5 separate regions of the Homo sapiens genome follow, and all the other regions are linked to region 5. Evidence: promoter capture Hi-C in 16 types of primary human blood cells and fetal thymus (Javierre and others, 2016). All regions are on one chromosome and are shown on one strand. The core of a region is centred on a gene start or on the middle of the fragment in contact, and the rest is flanking DNA. Distances in the headings are between cores, read along the strand shown.

Region 1 (2,700 bases), core at 12-2,511, 260 kb before region 5:
GTGCATGCCCCTTTTGTGGCAGTTCAGCCACTCGCATGATAAAAGTCTGTGTCTGTTTTTTCACAATTTCACCTCTTTTTCTACAGGAGATAAGACTCTCACTCAAAGCAATCTTAGTAGATTTGAGGCTCAGTATCTGCTTCTGAAGCTGAGAGACAGAATCCTTGAGTTCATAATTTTCTTTCATCACTTTATCCACTGAACTTAGGAGCAACTAACAGCTTCATCATGTTCCTTGGCTCTCCACATACAGTCAAAGGTATTATATATAGAGTCACTAAGCTCCTTGCCTCTCATGAGCGGTGAATCAGGAGTGTCGAGTGCATTTATTTTGCATAAGTCTCTAAACAGTTAATGCCAAAGACTATCAGTATTTTCCATACTATTAGAAGTGCAGTCCTTAGCATTTTGGGGTCTAATCATATTAAGCAGCTAACTCCAGAAACCCCAAAACCAATAAAAGAATTCCATCCTTAATATTCTCTTCCTCTAGAACCACTCCTGGTACCAAAATCTGTATTAGTCAGGGTTCCCTAGAGGGACAGAACGAACAGGATAGATGTTTATATATAAAGGGGAGTTTATTAAGTATTAACTTACATGATCACAAGGTCCCACAATAGGTTGTCTGCAAGCTTGAGCAGCAAGGAGCGCCAGTCTGAGTCTCAAAACTGAAGAACTTGGAGTCTGATGTTCAAGGGCAGGAAGCATCCAGCACAGGAGAAAGATGTAGGCTAGGAGCCTAGGCCAGTCTCGTCTTTTCATGTTTTTCTGCCTGCTTTATATTCACTGGCAACTGGTTAGATGGTGCCCACCAGATTAAGGGTGGATCTGCCTTCCCCAGCCCACCGACTCAAATGTTGTTGTTGTTGTTGTTTTTTATACTGTAAGTTCTAGGGTACATGTGCACAACATGCAGGTTTGTTACATATGACTCAAATGTTAATCTTCTTTGGCAACACCCTCACAGACACACCCAACATCAATACTTTGCATCCTTCAATCCAATCATGTTGACACTCAGTATTAACCATCACAACATGTTTCTCTGCCATATCTTGAAATGGCCCTGCAAAGTGTCCTTTGTGGGGGAAAATCTGCATTTGTAAAGAATCTCTACTAACATAGCTAGATCTTTTTCTTCCAGGCCCTCTCAATCCTGAAGAGATTATCTAAAAGTGTAGCACCTTTTAAAGACCTGAATAGGAAACATTTATCATCTATTGTCTCTAAGGGCAGCCACTATAAGACTTCAAAAGAACATCAAAAGATTGTGGTCTCCACAATCTTTTATCTTAACCTGAACATTTCCTTTCTATTGATCCCAGGTCTTAGACAAACTCAACCGATTGTCAACCAGAAAATGTTTAAATTTTTCTAAAGCCCGGAAGCCCCCGCTTTGAGTTGTCCTGCCTTTCTGAACCAAACTGATGCATTTCTTAAATGTATCTGATTGATGTCTCATACCTCCCTAAAATATATAAAACCAAGCTGTACCCTGACCACCTTGGCTGCATGTTTTCAGGACCTCATGTGGGCTGTGTCATGGACCATGATTACTCATATTTGGCTCAGGATAAACCTCTTCAAGTATTTTACAGAGTTTGACTCTTTTTGTCGACACATTATAGTTTTGGTTTACATTTCCTTGATGATTAGTGACTGAGCTTTTTTTACATACCTGTTGTCTATTTGTATGTCTTCTAAATAATTTCTATTCAGATCATTGCCCATTTTAAAATCAAATTTTTTTTTTGCTATTGAGTTGTTTGAATTTCTTATGTATTCTGGTTACCCCTTGTCGGATAGGTAGTTTGCAAATATTTTCTCCTATTTTGTAGGTGGTCTCTTCACTCTTAATGTTTCCTTTTCTATGCAGAAGCTTTTTAGCTTTAGGTAATCTCATTTGTCTATTTTTGCTTTTGTTGCCTGTGCTTTTGAGGTCTTACCCAAAATGTCTTTGCCCAGATCAATATTCTGAAGCACTTATCCAATGTTTTTTTCAGTAGTTTTATAGTTTTAGGCCTTATATTTAAGTTTTTAATTCATTTGATTTGGTTTTTGTATATGGTGAGAGATAAGGGTCTAGATCTACTCTTCTGCTTATGGATATCTAGTTTCCCCAGCACTATTTATTGAAGAGGATATTCTTTCCTTAGTGTATGTTTTTGCCACATTTGCCAAAAATGAATTGACTGTAAATATGTGGATTTATTTTAGGGTTTTCTATTCTGTTCCATTGGTTTATGTGTCTGCTTTTATGCCAGTATCATGCTATAATGGTTACTATAGTTTTGTAGTATATTTTGAAGTCAGGTAGTATGGTGCCCCCAGCTTTATTCTTTTTGCTCAGCAATGCTTTGACTATTCAGGGTCCTTTGTGGCTTCACACTTATCTTAAGATTATCTTTTCTATTTCTATGTAGAATGTCACTGGTATTTTGATAGGCATTGCATTGAATCTGTAGATCACTTTGGGTAGTATGGACATGTTATTAATATTAATTCTTCCAAACCATGGAAATGGGATGTCTTTGCATTTTCTGGTGTCCTTTTCAACTTTTTAAATCCATGTTTTATAGTTTTCACTTTAGAGATCTTTTACTTCTTTGGTTAAACTTATTTCAATTATTTTATAATATTTTGCAGCTACTGTGAATGTGATCGCTTTCTTTCTCAGATTGTTTGTTGTTGATGTAT
Region 2 (2,700 bases), core at 1-2,500, 340 kb before region 5:
ATCATTAGCATGTAAGGCTGGAGCCCTCATGAACGAAATTAGTCTTCTTATAAGAAGAGGCCACAGAGCTAGCTAGCTTTTTTTCCTCCATGTGAGGGCACAGAAAGAAGACTGCCCTCTATAAACCAGAAAGAGCCCCACCAAGAACCCCATCATGCTGGCTCTGGGATATCAAATTTCCAGCCTCTAGAATGGTGAGAAACAAATGTTTGTTGTTTACCTATTTATGGTAATTTGTTATAGCAGCCTGAACAAAGACATCCTCTTACTACGAGACTTGGTAATAGCACTCTGTCTTGTTTTCCTATGTGTTAAAAAAGAAAAAGAAAAAGGAAGAAAAGGAAAAAAGGTTAAGTTTTATATTAAAGAATTTGTCATAATGAAAAAGATAGGTTCTGAAATCTGTTAACTCAATCAAATCTCCATAGGCCCAGCACGGTAGCTCATGTCTGTGGTACCAGCATTTTGGGAGGCTGAGGCAGTGGATCACTTGAGGTCAGGAGATTGAGACCAGCCTGGCCAACATGGTGAAACCCCCTCTCTACTAAAAATACAAAAATTAGCCGGTCCTGGTGGCTCATGCCTGTAATCCCAGCTACTCACGAGGCTGAGGCAAGAGAATCGCTTGAACCCGGGAGGCGAAGGCTGCAGTGAGCCGAGATAGCGCCGCTGCACTCCAGCCTGGGTGACAGAGGGAGACTCAACCTCAAAGAAAAACAAAAAAAACAAAAACAAAAAAACTTATTCTAGACTGTGATTCTGTGTTTATGTGTGTTTCTATATTGCCTCCACTCCTTTTGAACCAGAAGGCAGGTTGTTGCTGAGAAAGTTAAGTTCCTCTTGGAATTGGTAGTTCATTATAGTTTTACATTTTCTGGCTCTGAGTAGCCCACATGGTATTTGACATTCTCCAGTGGCTGGCTGGTTAATTTTGTGGAACTAGAGTTTCCATATTCAGGGAAGTATTTCACACCTTTATTAATTTTTAACTGGGAAAATCGTATTCTAAAAATTTAGAGTTTTCTTGAAATAGATGCTTGATTTTCACTACATATTTCTGAGGCTTTTTATTATGAAACATTTCAAACATATTAAAAATAGAGAGAATAGTATAATGAACCACAGTTATAGCTGACATATAGCTCCATGAATTCCCAGTTCATGGCCAAGAAAGTTTTATCTATAGCCCTCACTTTATTTTGAAGAAAATTCCAGATATCATTTCATTTTACTTTAGCTCATTTTTATTTACAAAGTGTCAATTAGATTTTTTGATACAGTTTCCATTACAATATGATTTTTACTTGTAAGGAAAATTGAAGCTAAAGAGATATCAAACAATGATTAAAGCAGACATGTAATTCAAGAATGTTGCAACTCATTCATTCAATAGATGTGTCATTCTAGTAGTCTTCTTGGTTTATACATTTTTCTTTTGTTCTTTATTTTCTGACAGGGAAGGTTTTCCAGGGGAAAAGAAGAAACAAGGTGCAGAACTGTGTAAGAAAGTGTCAAGTAAATAAGTAAACATTTAGTTATTTCCTTGTTTATACACAAAAAACACTGGAAGGAGGCCAATGAACTAATGAAAATGGTTAATTAGGCGAGGGGGATGGGGTGAATAGGAATGTGGGGGACTAGAACTTTTCAATTTATACATTTTTATTTTTGAACCATGTGAGTATGCTTTAAAAATAAATACAATTTTTTCTTCTAACATGGTTTACTTTCATTAAAAAAAACTAGGAAATTCCTATGATCAAGTTAGTTTGAAAGTATTATAAGTGGTCGGTTGCGGTGGCTGATGCCTGTAATCCCAGCACTTTGGGAGGCCGAGGCGGACGGATCACTTGAGGCCAGGAGTTGAGACTGGCCTGGTCAACATGGTGAAACCCTGTCTCTACTAAAACTCCAAAAATTAGCTGGGCGTGGTGGCAGACACCTATAATCCCAGCAACTCGGGAGGTTGAGGCAGGAGAATCACTTGAACCCGGAAGACGGAGGTAGCAGTGAGCCGAAAGTGTTCCACTGCACTCTAGCCTGGGCGGCAACAGAGCAAAAACACTGTATCAAAAAAAAGAAAAAGTATTATAAGCTAAATACCAAAGCCAATGTCAACTGGTCAAATAGCGTTTTTTGTTTTGTTTTGTTTTGTTTTGTTTTGTTTTGTTTTTGATACAGAGTCTTGCTCTGGAGTGTAGTGGCACTATCTTGGCTCACTGCAACCTCCACCTTCCAGGCTCAAGCCATCCTCCTACCTCAGTCTCCCTAGTACTTGGGAATACAGGTGGGCACCACCAGGCCCAGCTAATTTTTGTATTTTTAGTAGAGATGAGGTTTCGCCATATTGGCCAGGCTAGTCTCAAACTCCTGGCCTCTGGTGATCCACCAGCCTTGGCCTCCCAAAGTGCTGGGATTACAGGCCTGAGCCACTGAGCCCAGCCTGTGTGCTTGTTTGTTTTAAACAAATTGTCTGTCTTTGATCTCATCTATTTCTGCAGTTTCCTTAGTCCTTAAGATTTGATTAAGGTTTAAAAACACGTGTGGCTTGGCCGGGCGTAGTGGCTCATGCCTGTAATCCCAGCGCTTTGGGAGGCCGAGGCAGTGGATCACCTGAGATCAGGAGTTCAAGACCAGCCTGGCCACCATGGTGAAACCCCGTCTCTACTAAAAATACAAAAATTAGCCGCGTGTGGTGGC
Region 3 (2,700 bases), core at 56-2,555, 280 kb before region 5:
TCCAGCCGGGGCGGCAGAGTGAGACTCCGTCTCAAAAAAAAAAAAAAAGAAATCTTGGATGCTCAAAATATCTATCACAAAATTTTGAAGATCCAATCTGACAAGGCTAGGATCAGGGTAAGATGAGTTATGTGAGAAACGTAGTGCAGGGCCAGATCCTGGTATTTAAAATTTTAACATTTGTTCATCAGGGATTATTTTGCATTAAATTTATTTTCTGGCCAGGCGTGGTGGCTCATGCCTGTAATCCCAGCACTTTGGGAGGCTGAGGCAGGTGGAACACTTGAGGTCAGGAGTTTGAGATCAGCCTGGCCAACATGGTGAAACCTCCTCTCCACTAAAAATACAAAAGTTAGTTGGGTGTGGTGGTGCACGCCTGTAATCCCAGCTGCTTGGGAAGCTGACACAGGAGGAGCGCTTGAACCTGGGAGGTGGAGGTTGCAGTGAGCCGAGATCATGCCATTGCACTCCAGCCTGGGCAACAGAGCAAGACTCTGTCTCAAAAATAAATAAATAAATATTTTCTAAAATTGTTGCATTAAAATATTATTTATCTTGATTATTGAGTTTTGTGGCACTCTCTTAAATTTTGGTCTTAGAGTGAGTGTCTCATTAACCTCAGCCTAATCCTAGCTCTGCTTCTAGCTGTAGAAGCAACAGAGGTCACCTCTTAGGGTCTTTTTTAAAGATAGCATATACAACTCAGGCAGCATCTGTTCCTGTTCAGCAGCTCCCTTTGTGTCTTGAAATAAAGAAAGGAGCCTGACTGGTCTGAAACCATTTCCCTTAAAGACTTTAGAGAGACACAGATAAGGATTTCCCAGGGAGGGATTGAGACTTTCAGAGCTCAGTGACCTCCTCTTTGTGTCTCCAGAAGGAACAGAGAGGACTTTGAGCCGGACTACTAACTCTTTTCTCTTTTTAGTTCTTACAATTGGACTTACTGCTTAGTTTCCCCACATTCAGCTATGGGCATAGTATCCTTACAGCTAGAAGGAGAAGGACGAGAAAGAGAGATTTCTAATTCTGGGGATTTCATGAAGTCCTCTTCTTCTCTATTCATTAGTTTCCTTGTCTGTAAAGTGAGGATCTTGAATTAGATAATCTTTCAAGTTCTTTCCAAGTCTATTAGTCTATAATTCTATTTCTTAAGTAGTACAGAAAATGGCTATATTATAGCCATTGTTGGAGGGGAGAATTTGTATTGTGAGGTAGTAAGAAATAAGGGGCAATTGGCAAATAAAGGCCAGATTATGTTGTCACTAATTCTGAGCTATGGCATTTCAATCCTGTATGTGAGAGCTAGAGACTCATACAGTGACCTAGAGCAGGCATGGGTGGGTCACAGGCTTTGGAGAGCACTCTCTGTCCTGATCTTTTCAGTTGAGAGACTTCAGCTGTTCATTGCTCATTTGGACTTAGTTCAAGGTCATGTCAAAGAAGAAGGTGCACTTACGCTAGTTGTTAGCTCTGTCTTTTGTAACCATCAAGTTCCATGCGATTGATCAGATTTAGGAGGGGGCGTTGGGGGATAATCGTAAGTGAAGGACAGTTTGCAACCTTGTGAGTAGGCAACGCTTACTCATCTCATGGCTTCTTCCATCTTAGGTGGCCGTTTTTCAGCTGAGTTTCATTTTCTAGTTCTCTGTGGTAATTCTGTTGTCATTGTTGTCTCCATAGAATTTTGGGTGTCACCAGGTAAACAGAGCCCTCAGCATCTGAATAGAAACTGAACAGGAACAGGTAGGTGGTCCCTAGCACATGATTTGTTGGGCCTTGGTAGCATCATTTTTTGGGCAAAACTTTGAAGTGGATGAAATGCATCCTTTAGGTTCCTACATCTATTTTCTGAATTCTGATTCCTTTTTCTATCCCTCTCCCTAGGTTTTGTTGTCTTTTCTTTCCTTTTCAGTGCTTTTTCTCCCCTTCTTCACCGAAGCTCCTCCTTTCTAATTAAAAATATCTTGCAGATAAAAGTATAACTGAGATGAACCAATAGGATGTATCCTCAGAGTAATTTCATTCAATAGGGATCAACACCAAATTCAAATGAATTGTGACATTTTAGACATTCGTAGTTTGGGTGTGTGTGTATCTATATCTATCTATCTGTATCTAAATATGTATATACATATATATTATACAGATATATAGGATCAGAGTCTCATTCTGTTGCCCAGGATGGAGTGCAGTTGTGTGATCACAGCTCACTGCAGTCTCAGACTTTTGGGCTCAAGAAATCCTCTCCTCTCAGCCTCCCGAGTGGCTGGGACTATAGGCATATGCCACCACAACTGGCTTTTTGTTGTTGTTGTTGTTGTAGAGATGGATTCTCACTATGTTGCCTAGGCTGGTCTTGAACTTCTGGCCTCAAGTGATCCTCCCGCATTGGCCTCCCAAAGCAATGAGACCACAGGCATGAGTGACTGTGCCCAGCCAGGTATATTTTTTTAAAGGGCACCTCTTAGCAGTTTCAAATAAAACCTAGGCAGCTGTGAATGCTGCCCACTTGAAATATATGTCTCAGAAAGACTGGAAATTTCTGCCCTGCTCTTCTTCCTGTTTATCTTTCTCCTCCTGGTCTTTCTGTTTCCCTATTGTCACCTCACTACTGATGTCAATGGTATAGGATATAGAAGTTTAGGAAACAAAATAAATTCCCTATAAATCCCTCATCCTTTCTGCCTTCAAAATGTATCA
Region 4 (2,700 bases), core at 179-2,678, 400 kb before region 5:
TGAAAAGATGATCCACATGCTAAAAAACAAAAACAAAAACAAAAACAAAACAAAACAAACAAACAAAAAAACCAAAAAAAACCCCTGGCAAAACTCTATCGGGAAACAGATTTAAAATGGTAAAGGGTTTTACCTATTGCCCTGCTATGGATTGGGGTAGCACCCTGAAGTGGGCTTAAATTAAGCCTTTTTGAAATTGTGTGTGGGAGACCCTTCTGAAGTTCTTGGCCAGGGACCCCACCCTTGGACTTAATAAATTAATCAAGAATTAAACAATATGTACAACAACTAAGACATAAATCACTAACCCTGCACAAGTTTGTTCTTTTTGTTCTTTCCAGTTTTATGTGTCTTACAAAAAAGCCCCTTCACCCTTTTCATCCAAGGATAAAGTGCCGCTAAAATCTTGGTAAAAACAAGGACTGGACCAACAACAGCCAGCCAAAAAGTGGACAGGTCATTATGATGTTTTATTAACTACTCATTCATCTGTTAAGCTGGCTGGAGTCAAACCACGCATACATCACATTTCGGTAAAAATCGCCCCTCCCCAACCTGACACAGCAGACAATCAACCTGGTTGGACTTGTGAGCCAACTGGAGAACTGAAGCTACTGCTTAAGAAAAATCTTTTTGTACTATAGGATTAAATTTCTGTTATTCTTTATCATAATGAGTAAACTTTTTTGACATCTGCTAAAACTAGTCTATTTCTACAGTGGGCATAACATTATGCAGATAGTCTACACTAAGATGCTTGCTGGGTATGTGGATTGCTACCCATCTCTAGCACTTCTGGGCTACTTTAGTGAGTATCACCCCTGCAGGGGACTGATTAGATACATTTACAAACGTATATGAAAAACTGTTCATGGGAAAATCAGGACCTTGGTAACTTAAGGTAATATTTTTTAAAAATGGCCTGGCATTAATATAACGCTTCAGAATCCAGATCCTGGAAAACTCTTCATTATAACCGGACTATCCAAAGGACCTCTGAGTATGCAATCCCTCTCTTAAAGGAGTTTTCCTAGATGGCCCCCAAGATTTTGGCTACTAATAACCATTACACGGTAGGTGAGTTTTTATCAAATTTGGGACGATTACCTCTGGATGATCTCCACTATTAGTCACTTAACCCAAATTGCCACTTCATGTTGGGAACAAAGGAATCACTCTTAGAATCATTGGCCGAATGTTACTAAAAATGTGGATAGGATGCCTCTACATCAATATGAACATTCTTTAGTGCTATATTAGACAAACCTGTTTACCACTGATTGGACACAGACCCAAAATTTGGTGGCTGGTCCCCAGTGGAACTCAATAGTTATGTGAAACTAATCTTCGGCCATGTCTACCTGATGGATGGATAGGGCAGTGCACGTTAGGACCCCCATAGGTCCGGGGCTGATTAACAAAAACCACCAGGCAGCCTGCACACTTTCCAGATGTGTTACACCAATGGACCAGGCCGGTTTTCCCTTCCTACGACCATCTCCTGTCCCTTGTTTTCCCCCAAGCAGGCTTAGAAAGCATCATCTGGCATATTGAGGCACTTACAAATTATAGCAAGTGCTGAAAGACACATTTAAGGGCATCTCATTAGTAACCTCTGAAATGACTATGATGGGAAAAGTAGTCTTGCAAAACCACATGGCCCTTGATGTACTCACAGCTGCTGGGAGGGACCTTGACCCATAATTGAAACTAAATGTTTTGTGTATATCCTAGGTAATTTGCGAAACATCTCCTTAGCCCTTCAAGACGTGCACAGACAAATCAATGCTATGTCTGACCCCACAATGTTCCTAAACCAGTGGTTATCTTCATGGTTTGGATACGGACCTACTTGGTGGAAAAAACTGCTAGTAGTTCCAGCTATGATTATAGGAATAGGTATATTCTCTATGGGTTATACTCTTGTTGCACCATATGTGTGATATTGCAAGATTGTGTTTTCCTTAATTGGAAAGGCTCCTAACTCCCAGGTCAATGATGCTGTAAAAAATCACTTCCATAAGTCAAGGAATGCATGAATACTTCCAACTCCAGGTAAATAAATTCCATTCTTCAGCTCCCTAGTGATGCCCTCATTCAGCAGGAAGTAGCTAGAAAGAAATTGACACCTGATCTCCCATAGAAATGAAACAGGAATTGGCAGTGGGGAGTTTGTAGCTGGAATAATCAGCCTGCTTCAATAATGAATAGCCTCACCCTTTGATTTATTCAGTATCTAGCCGTATCCTTGCTTAAGAAACCCAGGGGCTAATCTTGAAATAAACCGGGCATGAATTTGAGATTGTGGAATCCTACATTCTCAGAAAAATCACTGAGGGGGGTTAATCCATAAGCTAGTTGCAGTCATGGTGATGCCAGCCAGACCTCCAGGTGATCCGTTACTGAAGATAGCCATCAGAGTAAGACATGCAAACCTGCACCCTGCACCACTCCTGCTCATAGTTTCCATGCCTCCTACTTCTTAAAATCCCTTTAGCTAGCCTAAAATTTTGAAATAGTCTTTGAGGCGCTAGTCCACCATCTCCTCAGGTTGCTAGCTCTTGAATAAACCTGCTTTTCCTGCACCAACTCTTGTCTTGCAAGTCTTGCTTTTGAGCAGTGAGCAGTGATCAGCTGACCCTTAGTTTGGTTACACTATCACTCAGGAAATTCCAAGCATTTTAGAAGGTCTGTGGCAGG
Region 5 (2,700 bases), core at 14-2,513:
AATCCCGTCTCTACTAAAAATACAAAAAATTAGCCGGGCGTGGTGGTATGCACCTGTAGCCCCAGCTACTCGGGAGGCTGAGGCGGGAGAATCGCTTGAACCTGGGAGGCCGAGGTTGCAGTGAGCCGAGATGGCGCCATTGCACTCCAGCCTGGGCTACACAGTGAGACTCCATCTCAAAAAAAAATTTTTAAAACATCCCTCCCTATTTTACAGCTAACGACATAGATTTTATAGGTTACAATACAAACTATTTCCTTTATGTTGGAAAATGATTTGAGGAAATGATTTTATGTATATTCATGATTTCTGCCTTGAACGTTTTACTTCTTTGTTAGTTTCACAGAATCAGCTTGAAGCTGTAATTAAAACTAAAAAAGTAAAGCAAAACTGCCAGGAATATTACATGACACTTTAAAAGATTTATTCAGAAGTTTAATATATTCACAAGGTACAAACTTTAAAGTTACAAAAAAGGCATAGAGTGAAAAGTCTACCCCAGTTCCCTGGTCACTCATTTTTGCTCCAGCCACTCACTTCTGCTCTTTGTAAGCGATAGTCTTGCCAGTGTCTTGTGTCTCTTTCCAGAGACTATGTAGAAGCAAATAATTTTTTATTTAAAAATGTTTATATTTGAATAGGTGATACATATAGATGGCAAGAAAATTCAAAAGGGCAGGCAGTGAAAATTTTCTTCGCTCACCCACAGTTCCCCAGTTTCTGTGTTTCCCTCTGCAGAGACAGTCATCCTTTCTTATATATCCTTCTGGATGTTGTCTATAAATATGGAGGCATTGTTAGTGTAGAGCATGGTGGTTTTTATGAGCCATCCCAAGTGTAGTATTTATTAAGATAGTGCATTAAAATGATAAAATTAATCATACATAGAAAATTACTGCAAAGTTTGGAAAAGATTGAGTAAAGTAGCTATTGTACTACATGGCTTTCGAAATTTCAAACAACACAGGTGTGCACTTCTTAAACTCTCTTCTTTATGGAGTATTATAATCTTAGTATAAATAAGTAGGAAGACATGAAACAAGAATATAGAAATTAAGCTGAGGACATTTTGTTTCCAGGATCTGGGAAAGAAAGAAGTTTATGAACTCACAAGTGATTGTAGAGCATCTCTGTGGAAATAAATGGTTAAGTCGGTTTGAAGCAAAGCCCTTCTGGGGCAGAAAAGCCTCCAGAACGCCAGATGTCGCTGTGGTTCCGCGGTGAGAGAGGGCGTGCGTCTCTGTGGTTATAAAGTTGGGGGTGGAGTGGCCGGGAGATGATGGCTGATGAAGAGGAAGAAGTCAAGCCGATCTTGCAGAAATTGCAGGTGGGGCCGTAGATTAAATTCTGTATGTGTTTTTGTTACTCCGAATGAAGCAGGGAGTCCAGTTTATGTACTGCCCGTGAATTCCTCGGCACACACGCGAAGCTGCGTGCGTCTGTGTGGTTACTATAACAACCCTCGAGGGTGCAGCCGCAGCCAGCCAGGGAGCCTCGTTGGAACCTCCTGCTGCCGACCTGACTGCGGTTAATTTCAGTCCTGTATGGAAGAAGATTTGTTGCTCCTAACTGTTCATGTACATTTTTAGAGAGGACGTTGTTTTCTCGATTCATCCATAGCGAATAGCATATACATGTGTGTGGCAGATCTGCATGAACTACTGTCACATGTTGTTTTGATCCCTACAAAAGCCATTTAACACCTTTCTGCTTTGAATTTGGCAACAATCACGCTAATGACCTGCACTGCAAGTGTCCTGGTTACTCCCCTTAGGATTTCAGTTTTGATTTCTTTCAACCTGTGTAATTCCACTTTGGGGTCTGATGCAGAGGGGTCCAGACTCCACATAGTCCACAGGTAAGACTAGTCTTTTGGACTTGGTAGGGAGGCGTTAACTAGTTGCTTGGCTCTTTGCCTTTAAGAACCCATGATTTTCCTTACACCTCAGGAACTCAGTTCTTCGTTCTAAGGCAGCCTGTAACTTAAATATTAGAACTATGACAGGCTTGTAACTTGCCTAAAGGTGTTTAACGCACAAATTTAAATACTGGTGAAATTTCTTTGTTCTTGGGTACATTAAAATAGTAACACTTTTTAGAGTGTTCCAGCTGATTTGGATTAACTTCATTTTATTCCCTAACTGTGACTGGCTGAAATCAGAGATTCTCAATTCTGGTTCTATATTAGAAACATTATTTGTGTATATATGTTTGTATATGCACAGAAAAAAATCTGAAAAGGTATACAAATCAGTGGTTATCACTGAGGTTCTTTGGGGTAATTTTGTACTTTCTTTTTTTTACATGTATCTATTTGAATTTTAACAACTTACATGTATTGATTTTGCCATGAAAAAATAAGTTTCTAAAAACATTCAGTCCAGAGGAAAACAAAACCAAACAATAAAACCAAACAACTTCTTGAATGTTTGGTTTAACAACTAAAACCAATCAATAAGCCCTTCTCTAAAACTCTTAATTTGCAGCCATGTTGATTGCAGGACAAAAGGAAATTGGTTGTAATTTTTTATGAGAATTGTCTTTTCCTAGGTTCATTTGTGGTAAATGTCCTAAGCAGCTTGGGAGAGGATACTTCCGTTATCTTGGGGTGGGGTCGGTGCAGGAATGGAATAAAGGAGTGAAGTAGAGAAGAGGAAAAGGATTAGATAATGGTGTTGCTGTTCATGGAGATGGTGGTAA

Evidence for each region. The method cuts DNA at HindIII sites, captures the fragments that hold promoters and counts their contacts. A CHiCAGO score of 5 or more calls a contact.
Region 1: a fragment that was not itself captured here is called in contact with the fragment with the promoter of TTC5 in region 5 in 1 of 17 cell types (naive CD4 T cells); the score reaches 5.4 in naive CD4 T cells.
Region 2: a fragment that was not itself captured here is called in contact with the fragment with the promoter of TTC5 in region 5 in 5 of 17 cell types (neutrophils, naive CD8 T cells, non-activated CD4 T cells and 2 more); the score reaches 8.8 in neutrophils.
Region 3: a contact is called between the fragment with the promoter of RNASE11 here and the fragment with the promoter of TTC5 in region 5, in 3 of 17 cell types (naive CD8 T cells, erythroblasts and naive B cells). The highest score is 5.6, in naive CD8 T cells.
Region 4: a fragment that was not itself captured here is called in contact with the fragment with the promoter of TTC5 in region 5 in 5 of 17 cell types (naive CD8 T cells, total CD4 T cells, fetal thymus and 2 more); the score reaches 6.2 in naive CD8 T cells.

Annotation. Positions count from the first base shown.
Region 1 is chr14:20,565,654-20,568,353 of GRCh38, reverse strand. No RefSeq gene overlaps it. Among named protein-coding and RNA genes, the nearest start is that of RNASE9, 6.0 kb to the right of the region's middle. The HindIII fragment of the contact is 1,247 bases long and covers 638-1,884 here.
Region 2 is chr14:20,646,703-20,649,402 of GRCh38, reverse strand. No RefSeq gene overlaps it. Among named protein-coding and RNA genes, the nearest start is that of TRY-GTA5-3, 5.1 kb to the left of the region's middle. The HindIII fragment of the contact is 5,518 bases long and covers 1-2,700 here.
Region 3 is chr14:20,586,606-20,589,305 of GRCh38, reverse strand. RNASE11 (ribonuclease A family member 11 (inactive)) reads left to right here and starts at 1,305. Exons shown (of 3, transcript NM_001394190.1): 1 at 1,305-1,446; 2 at 1,681-1,743. It overlaps RNASE11-AS1 (RNASE11 and RNASE12 antisense RNA 1), which reads right to left and starts at 1,082. Exons shown (of 5, transcript NR_122043.1): 1 at 988-1,082. The HindIII fragment of the contact is 10,143 bases long and covers 1-2,700 here.
Region 4 is chr14:20,707,760-20,710,459 of GRCh38, reverse strand. LOC124903282 (a long non-coding RNA gene) reads left to right here. Exons shown (of 2, transcript XR_007064061.1): 2 at 1-667. Among named protein-coding and RNA genes, the nearest start is that of EGILA, 2.2 kb to the right of the region's middle. The HindIII fragment of the contact is 3,301 bases long and covers 1-2,700 here.
Region 5 is chr14:20,304,514-20,307,213 of GRCh38, reverse strand. It overlaps TTC5 (tetratricopeptide repeat domain 5), which reads left to right and starts at 1,263. Exons shown (of 10, transcript NM_138376.3): 1 at 1,263-1,327. The coding sequence starts at 1,277. RefSeq lists an enhancer at 1,118-1,357. The HindIII fragment of the contact is 10,592 bases long and covers 1-2,700 here.